Regions from separate parts of the Homo sapiens genome. Here regions 2 and 3 are each linked to region 1. The links are contacts of gene promoters, found by promoter capture Hi-C in human tissues and cell types (Jung and others, 2019). All regions are on one chromosome and are shown on one strand. The core of a region is centred on a gene start or on the middle of the fragment in contact, and the rest is flanking DNA. Distances in the headings are between cores, read along the strand shown.

Region 1 (2,700 bases), core at 69-2,568:
CTAGAGCGGAGAACTAGGAGAGGGTGGGGAATATGTAAGGAAACGGAGGACTCCTGTAGTCTGGGCGAGAGGACTGACCCAGAGGCCCCTGATTCGGGTCCCCGAGCCACCTTTGTCTGCAGTGCGCTCTGGGTGCCGGTTTGCTTGTTGAGATGGGAGCGACAGACCCTATTTCACTCTTCAGGGTGAGAAAAATTGTTGCACATCCCTGCCGATTCAGAACAGGCTTTTCCCGCCCAGGGGCCTCCCAGACCTCCGCGGGGCTCCAACAACCCCACCCCCCATCCTCTGCTCCTTCCCTGCTGGCCCCTTCGCACCGCGTGCAGGACAAAAGAACCCAGGGGCGCCGGGAGAGAACCGTGACAGTCCCCAAGTCGTCAAAGAGACACGGCGGGGATCCTGCACCTCCCCCGGCCGGACCTCCTCCCAGACTGCCTGCGGTCTGAAGGGGTCAGGTCCGCGCAAGGTCCCAGGCTGCTTGGGCGCCGGGTCGCACTGTCAGGAGCTGCCCGGGAGTGGCTTTCCAGGAACACCAGGCACTGACCACACACCAGGGGCTGGGAAACCAGGTGGCCTGCACCAAGGCGGCTTCGGGGACTTGTCTGTGGCAAGTCTTGGTAGTCCCCATTCAAACTTTTGCCTCGAGCGTGTTAAGAACAACAACAACAAAAAAATCAAAGTGCCAAAGGTCCCTCTCTTCTCTCCAGCTCAAGAACCCACCACTTTTCTATGATTTCTTTACAATTTATTCCCTCCCTTCCCCCAATTCCGTTAGTCATTTTACCCCCCACCCCACCCTGGGTTTCTTTTGTCTGAATCTTTTTCAACACCAAGGTCCCTCTGTATGCCTCTCCCCAAAAGCCCTTATGAAAGTTACCTGCATTTTTTAAGTGCCTACATTTTCTTAACTTCGCCTTACAGCTCTTTGCCTTAATTAAAGCCTTCTACCAATTGCTTCTTTTTTCTAAGCTCGCGGGTTTTTTTCTATAAGTTTTTTGTTTTTGTTTTTTAAGGGGGGAACAAAAGAAACGTGATTACCTTGGAAGGCGGCTTATTGCAGTTTGGGGGGAAAATTCACTGCAGCGCTGCGCGACTGGGTTCGGCGTTGCCCAGGCGGGTCACATAGGAAGCGTGGTGGCCCGGGGAAGGATGCGGAGGGTGCGGGACGGTGCTGGAAGATGCGGGAGGATGCGGGGCTGGCCGAAGATCTTGGTCCCAGCTCCTGTCCACAACACCTAATGTTCTCGGCTGTTGCGTCCGCACGCCTGGAGTTCTTCCCCAGAAAGGCTCGGGGCAGCTCGCCTGCAAGTTCAAATGCGGGTTGTGACACCCATCATCATTATATCACTGTACCGTCAGAGCCGAGGAGGAGACTCAGCGAGAAGAAGGAGGAGGGAGAGGAGGAGGGTTCATTCACAGGCTCCAAAAGCGCTCCGCAGCTTCAGCCACTCCTAAGAGTCCAGGCTTGGAAAGCAGGCGGAGGGGCGGAAAGGCAGCTCCCCGCGCCTGCGGTAGGGACCGCCTGCCTCCCTCCCCAGGCACTCCCACCTCTTGGCGTTTCTTCCTGACAAGAAGTACCAATCGGCTTGGGGACAGCAGCGCTCCCCATTCAGGGACTCACTCAGTAACATCGCTCTGCTCGCGGAAACCACTGCCCTCCCACTCCTTCCCCACCCCCATTTCCCCGCCCCCCGTGCAGCTAGTTCTGGGTTAGGGGAAAGGAGCCCCCAGGCTCTTAGGGGGCAGGCCAGCAATAGACAATTGAGTACGATCACTTCTTCTCGGGAGCACACAAAACTGTAAAATCAGCAAAGAACTTGGTTACAGCGTGTTTACGCGCCCACAGAGCTTGCCTGTCCCATCAAAGGGAAGTGTCAGGCTCAAGGCTCCTGCCAACCTGAAAGAGACACTGAGAAAACGAGATCCTTCGGGGACCTAGAGGGAAAGTGTAAGAATTCCCCACTGCACTCCCAGGGAACTGCCCAATGGGGAGCCCGGCTTCAAAAGACCCTGGTAATAAAAGGCTGGACAGGAAATTCCCCCAGGCAAATCCCTTGTCGGATTCAAAGAGAATACTTTTCCTCTGCCACAAATCTCTCCCCACATAAGTCTAGATTCTGCTTTCTTCGTTCTTCCTTTCCTTCAGTCTTTCCAAGTATCTCTGAGTAGAATATTTGATAATTTTCCTGAGTAACAGGGACTTCTTGGAAGTATCAATCACCTTTCATGCTTTCCGGAAATAAGACCATAATCTTTCATGCGTATATGCGATTTTTTTTCTTCAGTCAGGCCCACCCCACTGTGTAAACAGCATCAACACATGGAAGAGTCCCCTGCATTGTGTTACAAAAGATTTCCAATAGGACCTTACAGAGAAAAGGGTCAAACAGTTGACACAAAGGATTTCTGTCCCCTTAGAAAAGAGGGACTTTGGATTTTCCTTTTCTTTGAAGTCAAGTATGAGTTTATACAATAGGAACAAAATAAATCCAAGGTGCACATCAGTATAACACTAGGGATACTAGAATGGATGGCAAACTTTTCCTTCTACACAAATATGAAAGTATCCTCACAACTCTTCTCTCTGAAGCCTCTACTTAGAAAATTATATTAAACATAGGACCTCAAAACAGTAGTGATTAAAGATGAAAGCCAATTTTTCCTCTCAACTTCTTTGATTAGTTTGGTTTAAACTTATGC
Region 2 (2,700 bases), core at 153-2,652, 1.0 Mb after region 1:
TATCTGTTATTTCTGAGTTTCCATTTTGGTTAGGGACCATTGCTGGAGAGCTAGTGCAATCCTTTGGTGATGTCACTACATTCAGATTTTTCATGGTGTCAGAATTCTTGCACTGTTCCTTCTCATCTGAAGATACTTGCCCTTCTAATTTTCATAATCATTTTCATGCAGGTAAGACTTTTCCTTTTTTTCTTTCTCTATATTTTTTTCCCTTTCCCTCCCTCTGTAGGGAGCGGAACTGTAGAGAATGCTGTGTAGGATCTTTTGGCTTTGCTTCTATAGCTCTGTGCACTTCTTTCGCCAGGTTTTATATTGGGCTGTGCAGTCTGACCTACAAGCCAGTAGATGGTGCTTACAGCTAAGAGTGGACTATGGCCAATGCAGCTGGGTATATAATTGATCCTTGTTTACGGGCAGAAGCTCTTCGTTGTCTCAGGCAATGGGCTGATCCATGGAGTAGACAGTGATCTGAGCTCCCTGCTCAGCCCTGGGGGAACGGAGACCATGACAGGTAGGGCAGAACCAGACAGGTTCGCCTACAGATCCAGAAAGGGCAGACACAAGCACCAGCACCAAGGGAGAATCCAGTGCCAGCCACCAAGCTCCCAGTACTGTGCCTAGGCGTGGAACTGGGAAACTCCACTGGCCTCAAGATCTCTACATGGGGATGGGAGCAGCCTAAACTCCTAAAATCTAGGGCAGTGGGTACTGCAAGTGCTTAGAGATCTGCCTGGGCATGCAACAGAGAGGGACCCTCTGCACCAACATCTCTTCACAGGAGGTGTGGGATGACCCAAGCCTGAACCAGGCAAGCAGGTGCTCTGAATGCTTGGAGATCTGCCTGGGCATGTAGCAGAAAGGTCCCCCTGCCCTACACCAGGATCTCTGCACAGGAAAGGTGAGGCAGTTCAGGCTGCTGATTGAAGAGAGCAGGCGCTCCAAATGCCTGGAGATCTACATGGGCATGGAGCAGAGAGGGCCTCCCTGCACTAGGACCTTTGCACAGGAAGTGTGGAGTGGGCCAAGCTGCTGATCCAGATGAGTAGGTGCTCTGAATGCCTGGAGATCTGCCTGGGTGTGGAGCAGAGAGTGCCTCACTGTACTAGGGTCTATGTCCATGAAGGGTGGGGTGGCTCATGCTGTTCCAGGCAACTGAGCATTCCAAATGCCTACATTTCTGCCTGGGGGTGGAGCAGAGAGAGCCCCACTGCACCTCGATCTCAAGGGAGCAGACTGGGACAACCAGCAATGGCACATGCAGACAGGTTCCAGGTTGCCAATCTGGCCCTGCCTGCAAATCTCATCACCGAGGAGAAACTTCAGCCATAGCAGCTCTCCTTCTATCCCTGGCCTGCGATGGAGGAGAGCACCATCCCACAGCCTACTACTGAGGTGCTTTTCACAGTTCTGGCTATGAAGGCCCTTATCCTGCCAGAGAAGGCACTCTAGTCTCTGGCCCAAGACTAAAATGCCAAGCAGCTATGCTGCTAGGTCACCAAAGAATGGCTGACTTTGTATATGCCTAAATTCAAAATGACATCCTGCGGTCAGTCCCAGGTCTGGGGTTAGTGTCTGCAACTTTTCCCTACGTCTTTCCCTCACAGCATCTCCAAGGCACTCACCATATTAGCTCCAGGGCTTTGGAGAAACAAGATGCCCTCCCTCTACCTGGGTTGCTTGGGTCCCCAGTGGAAAGGTGAGTCACAGAGGGAGGCTCACTGCCTCTCTCACATGCTGGCGTTTCAGTCACTTTTATCAGCCAGATGCCATCACAAGGGCTGTTTACCAGTATTCCCAAGGATCTGGGTGTCCTTTACAATTCTGGTGGATTCCCATTTTCCTTCTTGAATTAAAGCTCACAGAGTTGATCTTTATGCACTATCTTGCTATTTTTAAGTGGCTGAAGCACATTAAAAGCCTCCAATCCACTTTTTTTGTCAGCTTGGTCAAAGCTTCCAGAATCTCAGCTCAACTTCTTGTTTATAGCTTCAGTTTTATATTAATAAAATAACATTGAATAATATTATATACTGTTTACTATGTGCCAGACATGACTGTAAGCACTTTATAGATATTAGCTTATTTAAACCTCAGGACAACTTACAAAAGTTTTACAGATAAGGAAACTGAGGTTCACAGAAATGAGTAACTTAATCCAGGTCACAAGGGAGGGGTAGAGCCACATGTGCCAAATGTGCACACAGGCGATCTGGCTTCAGAATTTTTACCATAGCCTCACGTTGGGCAAACTTAAAGGAATGAATCACATTCCATTCTCCAAGTGCCATTTCTTGGATTATAATTTTCTATGTTCTAGCCAGTAATTCACATCTATGAAGCCTCATTAAGACCAAAATTTAAAATATGGAAACATCTTTATAGCCAAAGAAGTTTATTACAATATTAATAATAATGATGGATACTGTATAAAAACTAAATGTTCAATAAGAAGGGAATCTTTTTAAAAAAAATAAGCATCGTTGGAAAAATCTCAGTGGTCAGTTATACCTTCATTTAAAATTATGTTTAAAATAATATGTGAGAGTGGCGGTTCCAACATAGCTGAATAGGAACAGCTCCAGTCTACAGCTCCCAGCGTGAGTGACGCAGAAGATGGGTGATTTCTGCATTTCCAACTGAGGTACTGGGTTCCTCTCACTGGGGCTTGTCAGACAGTGGATGCAGGACAGTGGGTACAGC
Region 3 (2,700 bases), core at 76-2,575, 1.1 Mb after region 1:
TAAATTAATATGTTCTTAGTATTGGCCTGCCCTTAAATATAAAAGCCACTCCAAAATTATCTGTTGTCTCGAACATGTTTTGAGATGGAGGGTGGGAAAGCAGTGAAACATGAAGAGAAACAAACTGGCTAAGAAATTAAACTCAAGTTGAGCAGAAGAGGAAGGGGCTGCCAGTCCCCACCGCCAACCCTGCCTGATACCACAGAGGGCAATTTCCACCTTTAGAAGGTCATTCTTAACAATTCAGGCTGACAGCAGTAAAGAAGGTTTTCTTCTCTTACTGTGAGGTGACTCACCCCCCCTTAATCGTTTTACATGCATAGCCAACCAAGTATGAATAGACTGATATGGAATACCAGCCTGTGAACTTCATATTCACACAATGTGGTAGGGCACTTATTCAGTACAAATAAGCAATTTAAAAATAGCAAATGTATATTTAGTCTTCATAAACTATAACCAAATTCTTATCACATCTAAGCTGGAGTCAGCCAAACATGAGCTGAAGTCAGCCAAACTTTTCAGGGGGTAGTAAAAATCGCCCAAGACAATATCCTATATCCAGTAAAAGAATGTAATTCCTCTCACCTCCCTGTTTATCCTTTTTAGAGTCCTCTTTACTTAGGTTCTTCCACTTTCCTAAATTAATGACTATTTGCTATGGTTTGGATGTTGATCCCCAATGTTGGAGGCAGGGCCTGATGAGAGGTGTTTGGGTCTTTAGGATGGATTCCTCATGAAGAAATTAATGCCCTCCTTGGGATTGGGGGCACCAAGTGAGTTCTCACTCTATTAGTATTCACAAGAGTTTCCTCAAGGACTGGTTGTTATAACGAGTCTAGCACCTTCCCTGTCTCTTGCCTCCACTCTCATCATGTGACTTCTGCACATGTTGGTTCCCCTTTGCCTTCCACCATGAGTGGAAGCTTCCTGAGGCCCTCATCAGAAACAGATGTTGGTGCCATGCTTCTTGTACAGCCTGCAGAACCATGAGTAAAATAAACCTCTTTTCTTTATAAATTGCCCAGCCTCAGGTATTTTTTACGCCAACACAAACAGACAAAGCACCATTATAATTCAACCCATTTTTTACAGGGAGCCTATTGTATGTCTGTTGGACGATGGAGATGCTACATGAACAAAAGAAAAGTGGCTGCTTCCTCTTGAAGCTTAAAGTCTTGGTGAAGACTTTAAACAGTCTTTAAACAGAGAGGTTCATGGTCTTTGAGACTTATTACAGCAACCAAAAATAACTGGCAGAGGTTCAAAACCCATCCCTTTAAGAAAAAGCAAGTTAAAGTTGATTATTTTTCCAATGAAAGGAAATATTCCATTCATCTGAGTATCAAAGTGGTTTCTAATAAACAAATAGCAATGGGTCACATCAAAGGTAGTATGCCAGAAGCAGTGCTCTGGCAACAACAGCAGACAACTAAATTGTCATCCATGTGAATGATATTAGAATAAAATACTTAAAATATGAATAACTGTATCTGAGAAGAGCTGCTAAATTGTGGCCTTGTAACACAAAACCTTTTAGAAATGAAAGAGCCCAAGACTATTCATTTAAGACCAATATATACTATTTTATATAATGTTCTAGCAAGTTTGCTTACCTAGCATTGCTTTCTAATGTTTTCACAGTATGGACAATAGAGATAATGATTATACTTATACTGCACCCTGGGATAAGCTGACAAGACTGCGAACAAAGGCAACCACCTGACAGCTCTGGCCACCCTGGTCCCTCCTAGGGCTTAGGGATTAGTATCGACTCCCACATGTAATTTACATGCTTCCCACAGTGCCTGTGCTGCCTGTTTCCTTTACTACAGCCAGAAAGTTAAGGGGAGATAGCTGTTTTCCTCATTCAACAACATCAACAAGTTGTTTTATTGTGTTAAAATATGTAAATACCCTGGTTCCACTGGCATCTAGTGGGTGGACACCAGTGATGCCGAACATCCTGACACGCACAGGGCAGCCCCCTCCTTTTTGTTATAACCTCTGGTTTAGATGCCTCCCTCTCCCTACAGGGATTTTTCCCAGCTTATCAGTATGCTTTTATTTTCATTTTAATTAACTCAAAGTGGGCTCAGTTTATTATAAGATCACAAACCAATTGAGGAAAAGGCTGCTACTAAAATATTTGCCTGAATACTCAATGAATGGATTCAGCATGACCCGGCATACTTCTTGTCACCTAAGTTGTCTGGTAGACTCTAGAAAACCCGAAGGAAGAAAGAATACGGAAGTAAGGAAGAAAAGAAAAGGAACAGAAAGATAAGGGCAGAGACTAAGTATGCAGCATAAGAGTAGGAGATTGAACTATTTTTAAAATAGGCCAGGGACAACTGTCTTCATTACAAGGAGGCTACAAACCATCCCAACATCACAGCTGTCTCACCAGTAATTCACTAGCATTCCTTCAGTTCCACAAAAATGCCTGTCTTCTTCCTTCCCATCTTGAGGCCTTGCACATGCTATTCACTCTGCATGGAATATTCTCACTCCTTTCTCACCTCCACCAGTGGTTCTTTTTCTGGGTGATTTTGTCCACTGGGGGACATTTAATGATGTCTGGAGATTTGTAAAGGGTGTCACAGCTGGAGGGAGTTGCTACTGACTGGCCTCTAGTTGGCAGAGACCAAGGATGCTGCTAAACATCACATAATGCACAGGAGAATCCCTCCACAACAA

What was found. The method cuts DNA at HindIII sites, captures the fragments that hold promoters and counts their contacts. A contact is called where the count stands out against the background at its distance.
Region 2: a contact is called between a fragment that was not itself captured here and the fragment with the promoter of VCAN in region 1, in 1 of the 25 tissues and cell types used here (lymphoblastoid cells).
Region 3: a contact is called between a fragment that was not itself captured here and the fragment with the promoter of VCAN in region 1, in 1 of the 25 tissues and cell types used here (dorsolateral prefrontal cortex).

What each region holds. Positions count from the first base shown.
Region 1 is chr5:83,470,362-83,473,061 of GRCh38, reverse strand. VCAN (versican) reads right to left here and starts at 1,318. Exons shown (of 15, transcript NM_004385.5): 1 at 1,039-1,318. RefSeq lists an enhancer at 17-889. The HindIII fragment of the contact is 7,638 bases long and covers 1-2,700 here.
Region 2 is chr5:82,457,516-82,460,215 of GRCh38, reverse strand. No RefSeq gene overlaps it. Among named protein-coding and RNA genes, the nearest start is that of RPS23, 180 kb to the right of the region's middle. The HindIII fragment of the contact is 8,215 bases long and covers 1-2,700 here.
Region 3 is chr5:82,402,946-82,405,645 of GRCh38, reverse strand. No RefSeq gene overlaps it. Among named protein-coding and RNA genes, the nearest start is that of RPS23, 130 kb to the right of the region's middle. The HindIII fragment of the contact is 4,090 bases long and covers 1-2,700 here.